Regions from separate parts of the Homo sapiens genome. Here region 2 is linked to region 1. Evidence: promoter capture Hi-C in 16 types of primary human blood cells and fetal thymus (Javierre and others, 2016). All regions are on one chromosome and are shown on one strand. The core of a region is centred on a gene start or on the middle of the fragment in contact, and the rest is flanking DNA. Distances in the headings are between cores, read along the strand shown. Region 1 holds the start of NWD1 (NACHT and WD repeat domain containing 1). Region 2 overlaps CPAMD8 (C3 and PZP like alpha-2-macroglobulin domain containing 8).

The links. The method cuts DNA at HindIII sites, captures the fragments that hold promoters and counts their contacts. A CHiCAGO score of 5 or more calls a contact.
Region 2: a contact is called between a fragment that was not itself captured here and the fragment with the promoter of NWD1 in region 1, in 2 of 17 cell types (M2 macrophages and M1 macrophages). The highest score is 8.8, in M2 macrophages.

The regions. Positions count from the first base shown.
Region 1 is chr19:16,718,471-16,721,170 of GRCh38, reverse strand. It overlaps NWD1 (NACHT and WD repeat domain containing 1), which reads right to left and starts at 1,324. Exons shown (of 19, transcript NM_001007525.5): 1 at 878-1,324. The HindIII fragment of the contact is 21,822 bases long and covers 1-2,700 here.
Region 2 is chr19:16,980,619-16,983,318 of GRCh38, reverse strand. CPAMD8 (C3 and PZP like alpha-2-macroglobulin domain containing 8) reads left to right here. Exons shown (of 42, transcript NM_015692.5): 14 at 2,633-2,700. Among named protein-coding and RNA genes, the nearest start is that of CPAMD8, 45 kb to the left of the region's middle. The HindIII fragment of the contact is 238 bases long and covers 1,271-1,508 here.

The DNA.
Region 1 (2,700 bases), core at 75-2,574:
CACAATTAAAAAGTATCCCTAGGCTGGGTGCAGTGGCTCACACCTCTAATCCCAGCACTTTGAGAGGCCAAAACAGGCAGATTACTTGAGGCCAGGAGTTCGAGACCAGCCTGGCCAACATGGCGAAACCCCATCTCTACTAAAAATACAAAAATTAGCTGGCGCGGTGGCATGTACCTGTAATCCCAGCTACTCGGAAGCCTGAGGCAGGAGAATCGCTTGAACCCGGGAAGCAGAGGTTGCAGTGAGCCGAGATCGTGCCACTGCGCTCCAGCCTGGGCAACAGAGCAAGGCTCCATCTCAAAAAGAAAAAGTCTCGGCCAGGTGCGGTGGCTCACGCCTGTAATCCCAGCACTTTGGGAAGCCGAGGAGGGCAGATCATGAGGTCAGGAGATCGAGACCATCCTGGCTAACACGGTGAAACCCCGTCTCTACTAAAAATACAAAAAATTAGCCGGGCATGTGGCGGACACCTGTAGTCCCAGCTACTCAGGAGGCTGAGGCAGGAGAATGGTGTGAACCTGGGAGGCAGAGCTTGCAGTAACTGAGATCACGCCACTGCACTCCAGCCTAGTGACAGAGCGAGACTCCGTCTCAAAAAAAAAAAAGTCTCCCTAGACATTGCAATGTCCCCTAGGGGGCAGAATTCCCCTTACTCGAGAACCCCCTAGTCTAATGCATTTAGCTTATTTCAACCTCAGGGCCTTTGCACGTCCTGTACTTTAGTGCTCTATGCTGCATCTGTTCATGTTGTTCACATTTTAGCTTCAATGCTACCTCCTCCTGAGAGGCTGTCTCTGACCATCCCATTGCGTAGTGACCCCTTAAGTCACTCCCAATGCCATCGCCTTATTTTAATTTTCTGCATGGTACTCACCAACAGCTGATATGTTTCTACATGTTATTGTTTGTCTGTCCCACGAGAAAGTGAATTCCATGAGCCCAAGGATCTTGTCTGGTAAGGCTGGCGTGCCTGGCACATAGTAGGTGCTCAGTAAATTATCATCACAACAGCTTCCTCCACAACTGTTTCTCTTTCTGGACTTCTGTTTGTTGCTGAAGAAGACAGCTGAGCAGGACTGGGCTTCCCCAGTAAGGACAGAGGCCCTTTGCAGTGTCAGCGTTCTGGCTGTCCTGGGGGCTCCAGCCTCTCTTTAGCCTTTGCTGGTAGTTGAACGACCAATTTAGACTCCTCTGGGGAAATAGGTTAGAGAGGACAGTTTCCTGGCCTCGGCGCCACCCGGAAGACAAGCCCCTGGCTATCCTAGTAACTTTCGTCTTAGGTATTTTATGGGTCTCTCCTTGCCCAATTCTCCCAGCAACTGGGATAATGAAAGCGATTGTTTGCACTAGGGCACCAGCTTAGCCGGGCATTCAGCCCAGACTTAGTGGTTAACTATTGTGTGCCAGGCTGATACGGCTCCTCGTAAAAGATGCCATTTGCTGACAGTCTAGGAGGTGCAGTTGGTTGGCATTTGGCATTAGCAGTCCACATTATTACCCCAAGAGACAGACATTATGATCCTGTTTCACAGATGAAGAAAACAAGATGCAGAAAGGTGAAGTCCCTTGCCTGTGACGCTTCACTACTCTGCACTTGAATTTTCTCACTAACTTCCTGTGTTGGTGAGACAATGAAAAGCATTTATATAGAGAGTGAGACTAACACTACACCTACATCACAGGAAGGGCCCGTGAGATGTTAGCCATGATTAATTACCATTAAAACTCCAAGACCGGGCACGGTGGCTCATGCCTGTAATCCCAGCACTTTGGGAGGCCGAGGCAGGCGGATCACCTGAGGTCAGGCATTCAAGACCAGACTGGCCAATATGGTGAGACCCCTATCTCTACTAAAAATAGAAAAATTAGCTGGGCGTGGTGACGCATGCCTGTAATCCCAGCTACTTGGGAGGCTGAGGCACAAGAATTGTTTGAACCTGGGAGTTGGAGGTTGCAATGAGCCGAGATCCTGCCACTGCACTGCAGCCTGGGCGACAGAGCAAGACTTTGTCTCAAAAACTCACAAATCACCCGGGCATGGTGGCTCACGCTAGTAATCCCAGCACTTTGGGAGGCCAAGGCAGGCAGATCACGAGGTCAGGAGATCAAGACCATCCTGGCTAACACGGTGAAACCCCGTCTCTACAAAAAAAACAAAACAAAACAAAACAAAAAATTAGCTGGGCGTGGTGGTTTGCACCTGTAGTCCCAGCTACTCAGGAAGCTGAGGCAGGAGAATGGCATGAACCCGGGAGGTGGAGCTTGCAGTGAGCCGAGATCGCACCACTGCACTCCAGCCTGGGTGACAGAGCGAGACTTTGTCTCAAAAACTCACAAGTCACCCAGGCATGGTGGCTCACGCCAGTAATCCCAGCACTTTGGGAGGCCAAGGCAGGCAGATCACGAGGTCAGGAGATCAAGACCATCCTGGCTAACATGGTGAAACCCTGTCTCTACATAAAAAACAAAAAACAAAAAACAAAAAATTAGCTGGGCGTGGTGGTTTGCACCTGTAGTCCCAGCTACTCAGGAAGCTGAGGCAGGAGAATGGCATGAACCTGGGAGGTGGAGCTTGCAGTGAGCCGAGATTGCGCCACTGCACTCCAGCCTGGGCGACAGAGCAAGCCTCCATCTCAAAGAAAAAGTAATAATAATAGTGTTACTATATTTTCAGGGATAGAAGTTTCAGATACTTGG
Region 2 (2,700 bases), core at 140-2,639, 260 kb before region 1:
CAAGCAATTTTGCTGCCTCAGCCTCCTGGGCTGGGATTACAAGCACCTGCCACCGTGCCTTGCTAATTTTTGTATTTTTGTAGAGATGGGCTTTCCCCATGTTGGGGAGGCTGGTGTTGAACTCCTGACCTTAGGTGATCCGCTTGCCTTGGCCTCCCAAAGTACTGGGATTACAGACGTGAGCCACCATGCCCAGCCAGAAAAAGAGGTTTAATGGATTCACAGTTCCACGTGGCTGGGGAGGCCTTACAATCATGGCAGAAGGTGAAAGGTACATCTTACATGGTGGCAGACAAGAGAGAATGGGAACCAAGTGAAAAGGAAAACCCCTTATAAAATTATCAGATCTCACGAGACTCATTCTCTACCATGAGAACTGTATTGGGGAAACTGTCCCCATGATTCAGTTATCTCCCACTGGGTCCCTCCCAGAACACATGGGAATTATGGGAGCTACAATTCAAGATGAGATTTGAGTGGGGACACAGCCAAACCATAGCACCCGAGGCTGGAGGGTGGTGGCACAGTCATGGCTTACTGCAGCCTTGACCTCCTGTGCTCAAGTGATCCTCCTGCCTCAGCCCCCCTAGATAGCTGGGACTATGGGCTTGTGCCACCACACCCAGCTATTTTTTTTATTATTTTTTGTGGAGATGGAGTTTTGCCATGTTGTTCAGGCTGGTCTTGAACTCCTGAACTCAAGCAATCTGCCTGCCTCAGCCTCCCAAAGTGTTAGGATTATAGGCATGAGCCACCACACTCAGCTGACATTCTTCTTTTTGCTGCTCAAATTTTCCAAATTTGGCTGTGGGAGTCCCTTAGGCCCAGCTTCTTAAACAGGCAGATTCTTCCTTTAGGGGGAGGTAGAATGACATTTATTTTTCTTACTATATATTTTTTTAATTAAAAAATATTGATTGATTGATTGAGACAGGGTCTCACTCTGTTGCCCAGGCTAGGGTGCAGTGGCATGATCATGACTCACCGCACATCGACCTCCCTGGCTCAAGTGATCCTTCCGCCTTAGCTTCCCGAGTAGCTGAGACCACAGGCACCCACCACCACATCCACCTAATTTTTGTATTTTTGTAGAGATGGGGTTTCACCATGTTGCTGTGGCGGGTCTTGAACTCCTAGACTCAAGCAATCCTCTCGCCTCGGCCTCTCAATGTGCTGAGATTACAAAGCATGAGCCACTGCGCCTGGCCAAAGTTTTTTGATTTTTTGTAGAGACGGGATCTCACTTTGTTGCCCAGGCTGGTCTCAAGCTTCTGGGCTCAAGTGATCCACCCACCTCAGCCTAACAAAATACTGGGATTACAGGTGTGAGCCATGGCCCCTGGCCAGAATGACACTTATTAGCCACCTACAGTGTGCATTGTGTGATGTTGAGCATGACACACACATCATCTCATTGGAGCCTCAGGACCCTCTGTCCAGGAGATAACAGCCTTATTTTACAGGTGGGGAAACTGAGGCTCAGAGAGGTGAAATGATTTGCCCAAGCTTCCACGGCAAGAATGTCACTCTTCCCCTACTCCAGATATCCCTCTTCTGGGCTTTCAGGGTGATCCCAACATTTGGGGACAGTCACAGATTGCAAAACATGGAACAGAGGCGGGATTCCTAGGGCAAAGTGTTGGACATGGCCACACGCCAACCCCCTAGGGAGATCTTAGGACCTGGGAGGCCTTAGCTTTCCTGATATCAGAATAATGGCAGCTTCAGGGTTCAATGTGGGGCCTTAGCATCAGTTCCCCTGAGTTTGAATCCTGCCCTACACTCATTGACATTGGGCAAAGAACCAAGGCCTCAGTTTCCAGTTTTCCCCTCTAGGAACTTGGGGACTATGATAGGACCCAACTCATTGAGTTCATATCCTAAGAGAAGGCCCAGCCCACTTGTGGCATTAGCACGTTCAAAGTTAGGAAACAGTATTTTATTTTTATTTTTTTTTGGAGACAGGGTCTCACTCTGTTACCCAGGCTGGAGTGCAGTGGTGCGATCATGGCTCACTGCAGCCTTGACTTCCTAGGCTCAAGTGACCCTCCCACTTCAGCCCCCTGAGTAGCGGGGACTACAGGCATGTGCCACCACGCCTGGCCAATTTTATGTGTGTGTGCTTTTTGTAGAGATGGGGGTCTCACTATGTTGCTCAGGCTGCTCTCTAACTTCTGGACTTGAGCGATCTGTCCGCTTCAGCCCCCCAAAGTGCTGGGATTACAGGCGTGAGCCCAAAATACTGGGATCACGAGGTCAGGAGTTCGAGACCAGCCTGGCCAACATGGTGAAACTCCGTTTCTACTAAAAATACAAAAATTATACCGGCATGGTGGCGGGCGCCTGTAATAGCTACCCAGGAGGCTGAGGCAGGAGAATCACTTGAACCCAGGAGGCAGAGGTTGCAGCGAGCTGAGATCTCACCATCGCATGCCAGCCTGGGTGACAAGAGTGAAACACTATCTTAAAAAAGAAAACAAAAAACAAAAAAGCTAGGGGCCAGGACTGGATGCTGGGCACTCCGCTCCCTCAGCCATCCCAACCTCCCTCTGGCCCCAGAATGGCCGTCTTCCTGTGGTGGGTTGCAACATTGGTGCGAGGCAGAGCCCCCCATGCTGCGTGTCTTCCATAGGTTGGGGAAGAAGCCTATTTTTCTGTGAAGTCCACATGTCCCTGCAACTTTACCCTGTACTACGAGGT